Regions from separate parts of the Homo sapiens genome. Here region 2 is linked to region 1. The links are contacts of gene promoters, found by promoter capture Hi-C in blood cells and fetal thymus (Javierre and others, 2016). All regions are on one chromosome and are shown on one strand. The core of a region is centred on a gene start or on the middle of the fragment in contact, and the rest is flanking DNA. Distances in the headings are between cores, read along the strand shown. Region 1 holds the start of CHRDL2 (chordin like 2). Region 2 overlaps XRRA1 (X-ray radiation resistance associated 1).

Region 1 (4,531 bases), core at 1,036-3,535:
ATGCATCAAGGGCAATGATATCTGGAGAAAAAATTGCAGGGACTAAGAACAAGGTGTCAAGTGGATGGGAGGCAGGCATGGAGGGCATCCTGTGCAAAGTCTCTTTTAAGAAATAGGAGGCAGGTGTTAGGAGGAAACCCTCAGGGTTCAAGAAAGCGGAAGAGACATTTATTAAGTACACAGCATTGTGCTGGGCACTTTAATCCGTTACCTCCTTTAATCCTCCCAAGAACCCTGCAAGTTCTGGATTAGTATCTCTCTTAGACAGATTAGGAAATTGAGGCTCAGAGAAGTTATGACTTACAAAAAGTCACACAGCTCTAAGGGGCACGGCCAGGATTTGAATACAACACTGAGCTAATTCCATTACTTGTTCTATGTAATGGAAAGACTTATGTGAGTCTCATGCTGCTGGCAGGCCAGAGACACTCAGCCTGCTCTCATGAGCAGAAACAAGACCGTAACAAAGTCCAGCACTACCAGCTCCAGAATGTCACGTGCAAAAGAAAGGCATAGATGGAGGAGCTGAGCTGGGGAGAGGAAAGAGCACCAGACTAGGAGTTGGGAACGCAGGGTCTTAATCCCAGGCTGTGCCATGTATGTCCTGGAGAAACCCACTGCTTGAATGAAGCTCCTTTCTTCTGATTAAGAGAATGTGGTTTGGTTTTCCATCCTCACAGCATTCTAAGAGATTGGCTGGGCATGGGGAGGGGGGACCACCAGCCTATTGTGGGCGCAGTGAGGAAACTGAGGCTCAGATTGATGATGTAACCTGTTTGATGTTACACTGTATCTATGTGGAAAAGCATAATTGGGAACTGATTTTTTTTGGAAGCTATCAAGCACCAGTCTTGTGCTAGCTGCTTTACCTCTTTTCTCTAATTTAATCCTATCAACTCTCCTAGGATTTTTACTTCCGCTTTATAGATTAGGAAACCCAGGGTCAGAGAGGTGCACTCTGTGACGGCCTCCCAGCAGCTGGCATTCAGCGGGGCTGGGATGGTGAAGACGCTGGTCTATCTCACTGTGCCCTGCCGCCTCCCAGAGTCTCACACTGCAAATTCAGGGTTCCTTCTAGACAATGTGAGGCAGGGAATAAAGCATGGGATCTGGAACTAGAGTTCTGGCTTTGGATGGCTTACCCGCTCTGTAAGTTTTAGCAAGTTCCTCCTTGCTCAGCCTAAGTTTTCTCATCTGTAAAGTGCGAATGATAATACCCACCTCACTGGAGAGTTGCGAGGATCAAAAGAGAGAAAAGAATGGGAAGGTTATCCTAATTACCTCTCATTTCTGTCCAATGGCTCTTTCCAAAGGCAAAAAGCCTTTTCTTCTCCATCACACTCCTTACCTGTAGCCAGACATACCCGACTCCCTCCTAGGAACAGTAAGTCCTCCCCCAACCCAAAACACAGTGCCCTGCCCTCTCCCCCCGCTGCCCTTGGTGCCCCTCCTCAGGTCCCTGGCAGCAGCCCTCTCTCAGTTCTGAGTTGTGCCGAGTTCCTCCGGTCCCCCGGCCCATACTGGTCCTCACGGAGTCTCCACCCCTCCGGCACAGGTGCTGCCTGGACGGCTGTCAGAAGAGCTTGGGGTCCAGGTCCTGGCGCTGTCCCTCACATTCCAGGGGCCGCATCCCTCCTCTGCCCACCCAGCCTCCCGGTCTACTTACGGGCTCGAGCGTGGGAGTCCAGGGGGAACCAGAGCAGCGCGAGTCCCAGCAAGGAGGAGAGGACCCTCACCTCGGGAACCATCCTTTCCCCAGGGTCAGGCCGCTGGTCCGGGAGCGGAGTCGGGAGGAAGGGAGACGAAAAGGACACGGAGGCACAGGGGCCACAGATCAACCCACAGACCCCAGGAGGTCTGCTGCTAGAGCGGGGTCGGAGAAGGGCCAGGAAGCAGCGGTGGGCAGGAAAGGAGGGCAGGAAGGGAGGTCTAAGGTGGGAAGAAGAGAAAGGTGGAAAGAGAACGCGGGGAAAGGAGGGAGAGATGGAGAGACGAAGGAAGGTCCAGCAGAAGGGAGAGGCGATCAAAGAAAGGGGGAAGGTGAGAGGGAGAGGAGGAGAAAGCAGGGAGAGGACCGGCGTCTGCCGAGCGCGCAGCGCCGGGCGAGGCGCGCGGGACCAGCGGGTGTTGCGGGCGCGCGGGCTAGAGGCGGCCGGCGCCCCCTGCTCGGTGGGCTCGGGGTCGGGCCGCGGGGGCCTGGGGCCCGGCGGGGCGGCGGTCCCAGCAGCGGCGGCGGCGCGGCGGCCGCGGAGGGAGGCTGAGCGCGGGCCGGCTGTGCTCGCCAAGGGCTTCAGGCGCCGCGCTCGGGCGCATTTGTACTTTGCCGCGGGAAGCAGGCAGCCCGGCCTGGCGCTGGCCTAGCGCTGGCGCCTCCTCTGGGGCACCGCGGGCTCGGTGGATTGGCCACCCGAGAAACAGGCCCACTTTTTCCCCTCCTCTCTTGTGCGGGTCTCCGGGACGGACGCTCCAGGCGCGGCGCCGAGTGGAGGCGAGGGGGCTGCGGAGGGGGAAGGGGCCACGCGGGCCACGGGGTTTAACCCCTGACTCCCCGCGACGCCAAGAATGCAGGAGGGCAGAGTTGAGGGAGACCTCAGGTGGAACTTTCAGGTGGGGAAGGCTGAGCTGTCGGGGCTGCGGGTACCGGGAAGGCTCAGGGTAAGGCGCTCGGCGGTGCGTGCCCGGAACTCCGCAGATGGATGGAATCAGAACACTGGCGTTCTTAATTCAGTTTGTGGTCTACAGCACGCCACCGGAGAGTCTGTTTTCCCAGCTTTAAAATGGGCATTTTAAGATCTTAAAATATCTCTACTATCTTCCCACGAGTGTTGCTAAGATGAAATAAGGTAATGAACGTCGAAACACTCACCCCACAAAGAGAAGGGGTCCTAATTCCAGGTGCCTACAATACCAGTGGCCCCTGTCCCCACTCCGTCTGCCCATGCGCCATTCTCAGGAAAGTCAGCCCATAGGGATCCTGTGCCTTCCCCTGGAGGTCTTCCTCTGCTCCCCGCTCCCACTCCCGAATCAAGGCAAGATCTCTCCTTTGCCTTTGCAGGTGAGGCCTGCACTTCTCTGGGAGTGATGGTCACCTTCAGTCATCTTTAGGGAGAGCTGATTGTCAAAGAGTTTTCTTTCCCACCAGAAGGGGAGCTCCCTGAGGACAGGGCCCTGACACCCTCCAGCCCTCAAATGGTGCTCCATCTCTTGTGTTGAATGAACACATGCACTAATAGGACACTAAGAAGAGAATAGCCAGCTCTGGCCAGACCAGAAACACACAAGCTCTGAAATCAAAAGGGCAGAGTCACTGTCCTGGCTCCATCCGTAACTTGTTGGGCCACTTTGAGTAAATACATCTATCCTTGCTTTGGACCTCAACTTTCTGCCCAGCTTCTCTTGAAGAGCTAATGGAGACTCCAAAGAGTGCCAGAGGAGTATGAGGTGGGAAGGGATGTTGAGCCATATCCCACTCTGGTAGGGAATCATATTTCCGGGTTTAAACACTTGGCTGGCTGGCTGTAAAGGTATCTTTCTGGGCCAAGGCTGGGCTCCCCATTGCACTGTGCTTTCAGGGTATTACCCCCAAGATCTCCACCCTCCAAAAGAGAGCAGTAGGAGGAACCAGTGATCCCCAAACTGGCCCTTCCTAGGGCTCTCAGGATCAGGGACAAACATGATCTGTCCAGTGCCCTTCAGGCTTAATTTCTACTCTAATCTGGCCAGTCTCTTCCTTTCCCCTGAGTATTCTTTATTTTAACAGATAGTGCAAGCTTATGCATGTCACCATGCTTCCCTTTTTGCCTTTGCTTCCAGGGATCTCAGAGTTAAATCCTGTGCTGCTTAATTGCATAAACAATCTCATCCCAAGGGTTTGGGACAGTGATCTTTTCCTTTCTCTTTGTTTAAAATGTGCTGTGCACATATATTCATGTCTTAGATGTAAGAAGTGGATTAAGATGGGTTCCCCTACATCCTGCCCATCATACTTCAAAAAAGGCCTCCACCATCTCAGCCCTCCTGTCCATCCCTATTATCCCCAGAGTTGAGGCCAACTTCATTCCTTTTTTTTTTTTTTTTGAGATGGAGTTTTGCGCTTGTCGCCCAGGCTGGAGTGCAGTGGCGTGATCTGGGCTCACTGCAACCTCTGCCTCTGGGTTCAAGCGATTCTTCTGCCTCAGCCTCCCGAGTAGCTGGGATTACAGGCATGCACCACCTATAATTTTTGTATTTTTAGTAGAGATGGGGTTTCGCCATGTTGGCCAAGCTGGTCTTGAACTCCTGACCTCAGCTGATCCACTCACCTCAGCCTCCCAAAGTGCTGGGATTACAAGCATGAGCCACCGCACCCGGCCATCTTCATTCCTTACTTGAACTTTCCCAACAGCCTCTTACCAGGTCTCCTCCCCCTAATCTGGATCTCTCCTATCTATTTTCCTCACACCTGCCTTGAGAACTATGCTGATCATTTCTACTGACAAATCTGATCACATCACTTTCCCACATAAAACCTATTATTCACTTCCTATCATTT
Region 2 (5,115 bases), core at 138-2,637, 140 kb after region 1:
TAACCTGAAAATGCAGGGCCTCCTCGAACCTTGTAGCAGCCCCTGCAACACCCCAATATTAGGAGTGCAAAAACCCAATGGAGAATGGAGACTAGATCAGATCCTCCACATCATTAATAAGGCCATAGTTCCAACTCATCCAGTGGTCCCTAATCCCTATACTTTGCTAACCCAAATACCTGAGGGAACTAAATGGTTCAGTCCTAGATCTAAAGGATGCCTTTTTCTATATAGCGTTACATCCTGACTCTCAATACCTGTTTGCCTTCGAAGATCCCTCTGGCCAGATGCCCAGTTAACATGGACAGTGCTGCCTCAGGGATTTTGAGACAGTCCCCACTTGTTTGGACAGGTACTGTCAAAGGACCTCTCTGAGTTTTCCCATCCTCAGGTCAGGGTCTTGCCATATGTAGATGACATACTGTTTTGTGCCCCAACTGAGGAAGCATCTCAGGAAGGCAGTGAAGCTCTTCTTAATTTCTTAGCCAACAGAAGATATAAGGTTTCAAAATCTAACATCAAGCTTTGCCAAACCTCAGTGAAGTACCTGGGTGTAGTGTTGTCTGAAGGGACCAGAGCATTAGGGGAAGAAAGGAGTAAGCCAATTTCCTCCTTCCCCCTCCCTAAAACCTTCAAGCAACTAAGAGGATTTGGGGGCATTACAGGATTCTGCAAACTCATCTTGGTATGGTGAGATAGTTTACCCCCTATATCACCTCATAAAAAAAACTCAAGGCCAGGCACGGTGGCTCACACCTGTAATCCCAGCACTTTGGGAGGCCGAGGTGGGCGGATCATGAAGTCAAGAGATCAAGACCATCCTGGCCAACATGGTGAAACCCCGTCTCTACTAAAAATACAAAAATTAGCTGGGCATGGTGGCACACGCCTGTATTCCCAGCTACCCAGGAGGCTGAGACAGGAGAATCGCATGAACCCGGGAGGTGGAGGTTGCAGTGAGCTGAGATCACGCCACTGCGCTCCAGCCTGGGTGACAGCAAGACTCCGTCTCAAAAAAAAAAAAAAAAAAAAAAAAAAAAAGAAAGAAACTCAAGTGGCTAAAACTCATTTCCTAACCTGAGAACCTGAAGCTCAAAAGGCCTTTAATTAGTTAAAACAAGCCTTACTTAAGGTACCAGTCCTCAGCCTTCCCATAGGGAGGGTCTTCAATCTTTTGTATCAGAAAGGAAGGGAATGGCCCTGGGAGTTTTAACTCAAGCCCGAGGACCAGCTCAACAGCCAGTGGGCTCCCTAAGTAAGGAACTTGATTTGGTGGCTAAAGAATGGCTATCATGCCTCTGAGCCATTGCCAAAGTGGCCCTACTGATACCAGAGGCCACCAAATTAACCCTGGGAAATAGCTTAACTGTTTATACCCCACATAATGTAGCACGATTGCTGTCCTCTAAGGGATGCCCTTGGCTAACAGAAAGCTGACTCCCTAAATATCAGGCTCTGATATTAGAAGGGTCTACAATCCAGTTAAAAACTTGCTCTTGCCTAAACTCAGCCACTTTCCTCCCCAAGGAAACTGAGGAACCTGAACATGACTGTGAACAAGTTGTGGTACAGACCTATGCAGCCAGGGAAGCTCTCAGGGAAACTTCCCTAGAAAATCCAGATGGGACGCTCTTCACAAATGGAAGTTCCTTTGTGGAACAAGGAGTCTGTAAGGTGGGATATGCAATGTACACTCTGAATGACATTGAAAGTGCACCCCTCTCCCCAGGCACAAGCATTCAACTAGCTGAACTGATAGCTCTTACAAGAACACTTGAATTAAGCAAGGGAAAGGTAGCTAACATTTACACAGAATCCAAGTATGCTTTCTTAGTTCTTTATGCTCATGCTGCCATTTGGGAGGAAAGACACTTTCCTACTACTAAAGATAACCTATAAAATACCATCAGGAAATTAACAAGTTATTATCCTCAGTTTTCCTTCCACGAGAGGTAGCAGTGATGCATTGTAGGACATCAGAAGGGAGCAGATGAAGTAGCCTAAGGAAACAAGTTAGCTGATGAGGCAGCCAAGTCAGCAGCAAGTCAGCCTCAGGGCCTCAATGCACCTGAAGCCCCCTCTAATCTGGGAAGGCTCCATAAGAGAAATTAAGTCTCAGTACTCCCCTGCAGAGGCAGAGTGGGCCACTTCTCAAGGGTATACTTTTCAGCTCTCAGGATGGCTACAGTAAGAGGACGGCAAACTCCACTTGCCAGCCTCCCGCCAGTGGAAAGTCCTTAAGATCCTTCATCAAGCTTTTCACTTGGGAAAGGATAAAACTTATCAGTGTGCCCAGAGATTTTTCAGGAGAGAACTTAATAACAGTCAAGCAGCTTGTTAGTGCTTGTGAAGTCTGTCTTAAAAATAATCCCTTTGGCTGGGCACGGTGGCTCACACCTGTAATCCCAGCACTTTGGCGGGTGGATCACTTGACATCAGGAGTTCGAGACCAGCCTGGCCAACATTGCAAAACCCCATCTCTACTAATAATACAAAGAAATTAACCAGATGTGGTGGTGCACGCCTGTAATCCCGGTTACTTGGGAGGCTGAGGCACGATAATTGCTTTAACACAGGAGGTGGAGGTTGCAGTGAGCTGAGATCACACCACTACACTGAAGCCTGAGCAACAGAGTGAAACTGTGTCTCAAAATAATAATAATCCCCTTAACAGGCATCTCCTTCCTCCTCAAACCTAAAGGATGGGAAGCCATCCAGGGAAGGACTGGCAGATAGACTTCACCCACGTGCCAAAGAAGAAGGACATCCAATACATCCTGGTATGGGTAGATACTTTCACTAACTGGATAGAAGCATTTCCATGCTGTACAGAAAAGGCCTCCAAGGTAATAAAAGTGTTTGTTACTTAATGAAATAACTCCCCACTTTAGTCTACCTAAGTGCCTTCAAGGTCACAATGGCCCCTTGCTTAAGACAGCTGTCACATAAGGGGTCACAAAGGCACTAGGCATACAGTATCATCTCCATTGTGCTTGGAGACCCCAGTCCTCAGGAAAGGTAGAGAAGACAAACGATATTATCAAAAGACATCTCAGAAAACTGTTCCAAGAAACTAACCTTCCTTGGGTCACTCTTCTTCCCATGGCTTTACTGTGGGTAAGAAATACCCCTTCAAAGTTAGGTCTGACCCCGTTTTAAATGCTGTATTAACAGCCTTTCCTTACAAGTGACTTTCTATTAGACCAAGACACCTCTAAATTGGTTAAGCATGTAACCTCCCTAGCTCACTTCCAACAGGAATTAACACAACTAGCAGAAGCCCAACCCCCCAAAATAGGACCATCATTATTTAACCCAGGATATGTGGTATTAATAAAGACTCTGCCCTCTGTCTCCCTACCTAAGCCCAAGTTAGGAAGGGCCCTACACTGTTCTTTCAACCCCTCAGCGATAAAAGTCACAGGAATGGACTCCTGGATGCATCACTCAAGTCAAAGCCTGGAAACCTGAGAGAGAGAGCAACCCCAGACAGCCCAGAGGAATGTCCTGGATATCCATGTGAAGAAATAGGAGATCTTAAGCTGAAAATCATAAAAGATAAGTAAATGAGTAAGGGCTATTCATCCTACTCAGTCCCACTCCTACCTTATCAGATACTTTCAGTTATTTCTACTTTTCCTCTCGAGATTCGCTGTGAGATACTAGAACTTCTTTTTGATGCATACTTGTGGGAAGATTTTGATTATCCATGAGATTACAGTTGTAACTTCATAGACTCCCAAAGGGAAATTCTTGGTGAGTAAAATTTAAGATGGAAATTATCTACTACACCACCCTTGTGTAAATTGTTATACTTACTCTGCTATTTGCAGTAGGACTATATACTGTGGTACCTGCAATGTAGAATTCTGGATGGAATATTCTAATTGCTGTAATATTCTGCCTAATTTTTACAACAGGATTAATAATTACAGGAAAGATTTAGCCAAGGTTAACACTAAAGTTACTCTAGCCACCCAATAATGTGTTCCTCCCAATCACATCACAAGTCATAAAAGATAGCCCAGGCCTACAATTATCTTCTAATGGCAAGTCAAGGGGGAATATATGTTTTTTTTCAAAGAAAAATGTTGCTTTTATATTACACTTCTGGTAAAGTACAGCGACATCTGGTGGAGGCAACTAGTATTACAACCCATCAAATGGCTATCAGGTATCAAACTCTACTGTCATGGTTATAGCCTATAGTACTCCCACTAATAATGGGATTCTTTTTTTTTATTTTTTATTTTATTATACTTTAAGTTTTAGGGTACATGTGCACATTGTGCAGGTTAGTTACATATGTATACATGTGCCATGCTGGTGCGCTGCACCCACTAACTTGTCATCTAGCATTAGGTATATCTCCCGATGCTATCCCTCCCCCCTCCCCCCACCCCACAACAGTCCCCAGAGTGTGATATTCCCCTTCCTGTGTCCATGTGATCTCATTGTTCAATTCCCACCTATGAGTGAGAATATGCGGTGTTTGGTTTTCTGTTCTTGCGATAGTTTACTGAGAATGATGATTTCCAATTTCATCCATGTCCCTACAAAGGACATGAACTCATCATTTTTTATGGCTGCATAGTATTCTATGGTGTTTATGTGCCACATTTTCTTAATCCAGTCTATCATTGTTGGACATTTGGGTTGGTTCCAAGTCTTTGCTATTGTGAATAATGCTGCAATAAACATACGTGTGCATGTGTCTTTATAGCAGCATGATTTATAATCCTTTGGGTATATACCCAGTAATGGGATGGCTGGGTCAAATGGTATTTCCAGTTCTAGATCCCTGAGGAATCACCACACTGACTTCCACAATGGTTGAACTAGTTTACAGTCCCACCAACAGTGTAAAAGTGTTCCTATTTCTCCACATCCTCTCCAGCACCTGTTGTTTCCTGACTTTTTAATGATTGCCATTCTAACTGGTATGAGATGGTATCTCATTGTGGTTTTGATTTGCATTTCTCTGATGGCCAGTGATGATGAGCATTTTTTCATGTGTTTTTTGGCTGCATAAATGTCTTCTTTTGAGAAGTGTCTGTTCATATCCTTTGCCCACTTTTTGATGGGGTTGTTTGTTTTTTTCTTGTAAATTTGTTT

The links. Contacts are between HindIII fragments. The CHiCAGO score rates a contact against its expected background, and 5 or more counts as called.
Region 2: a fragment that was not itself captured here is called in contact with the fragment with the promoter of CHRDL2 in region 1 in 1 of 17 cell types (endothelial precursors); the score reaches 5.8 in endothelial precursors.

Annotation. Positions count from the first base shown.
Region 1 is chr11:74,729,141-74,733,671 of GRCh38, forward strand. It overlaps CHRDL2 (chordin like 2), which reads right to left and starts at 2,286. Exons shown (of 11, transcript NM_001278473.3): 1 at 1,667-2,286. The coding sequence starts at 1,748. The HindIII fragment of the contact is 5,548 bases long and covers 1-3,768 here.
Region 2 is chr11:74,873,222-74,878,336 of GRCh38, forward strand. The region is part of intron 10 of XRRA1 (X-ray radiation resistance associated 1); the gene reads right to left. Among named protein-coding and RNA genes, the nearest start is that of XRRA1, 73 kb to the right of the region's middle. The HindIII fragment of the contact is 1,732 bases long and covers 522-2,253 here.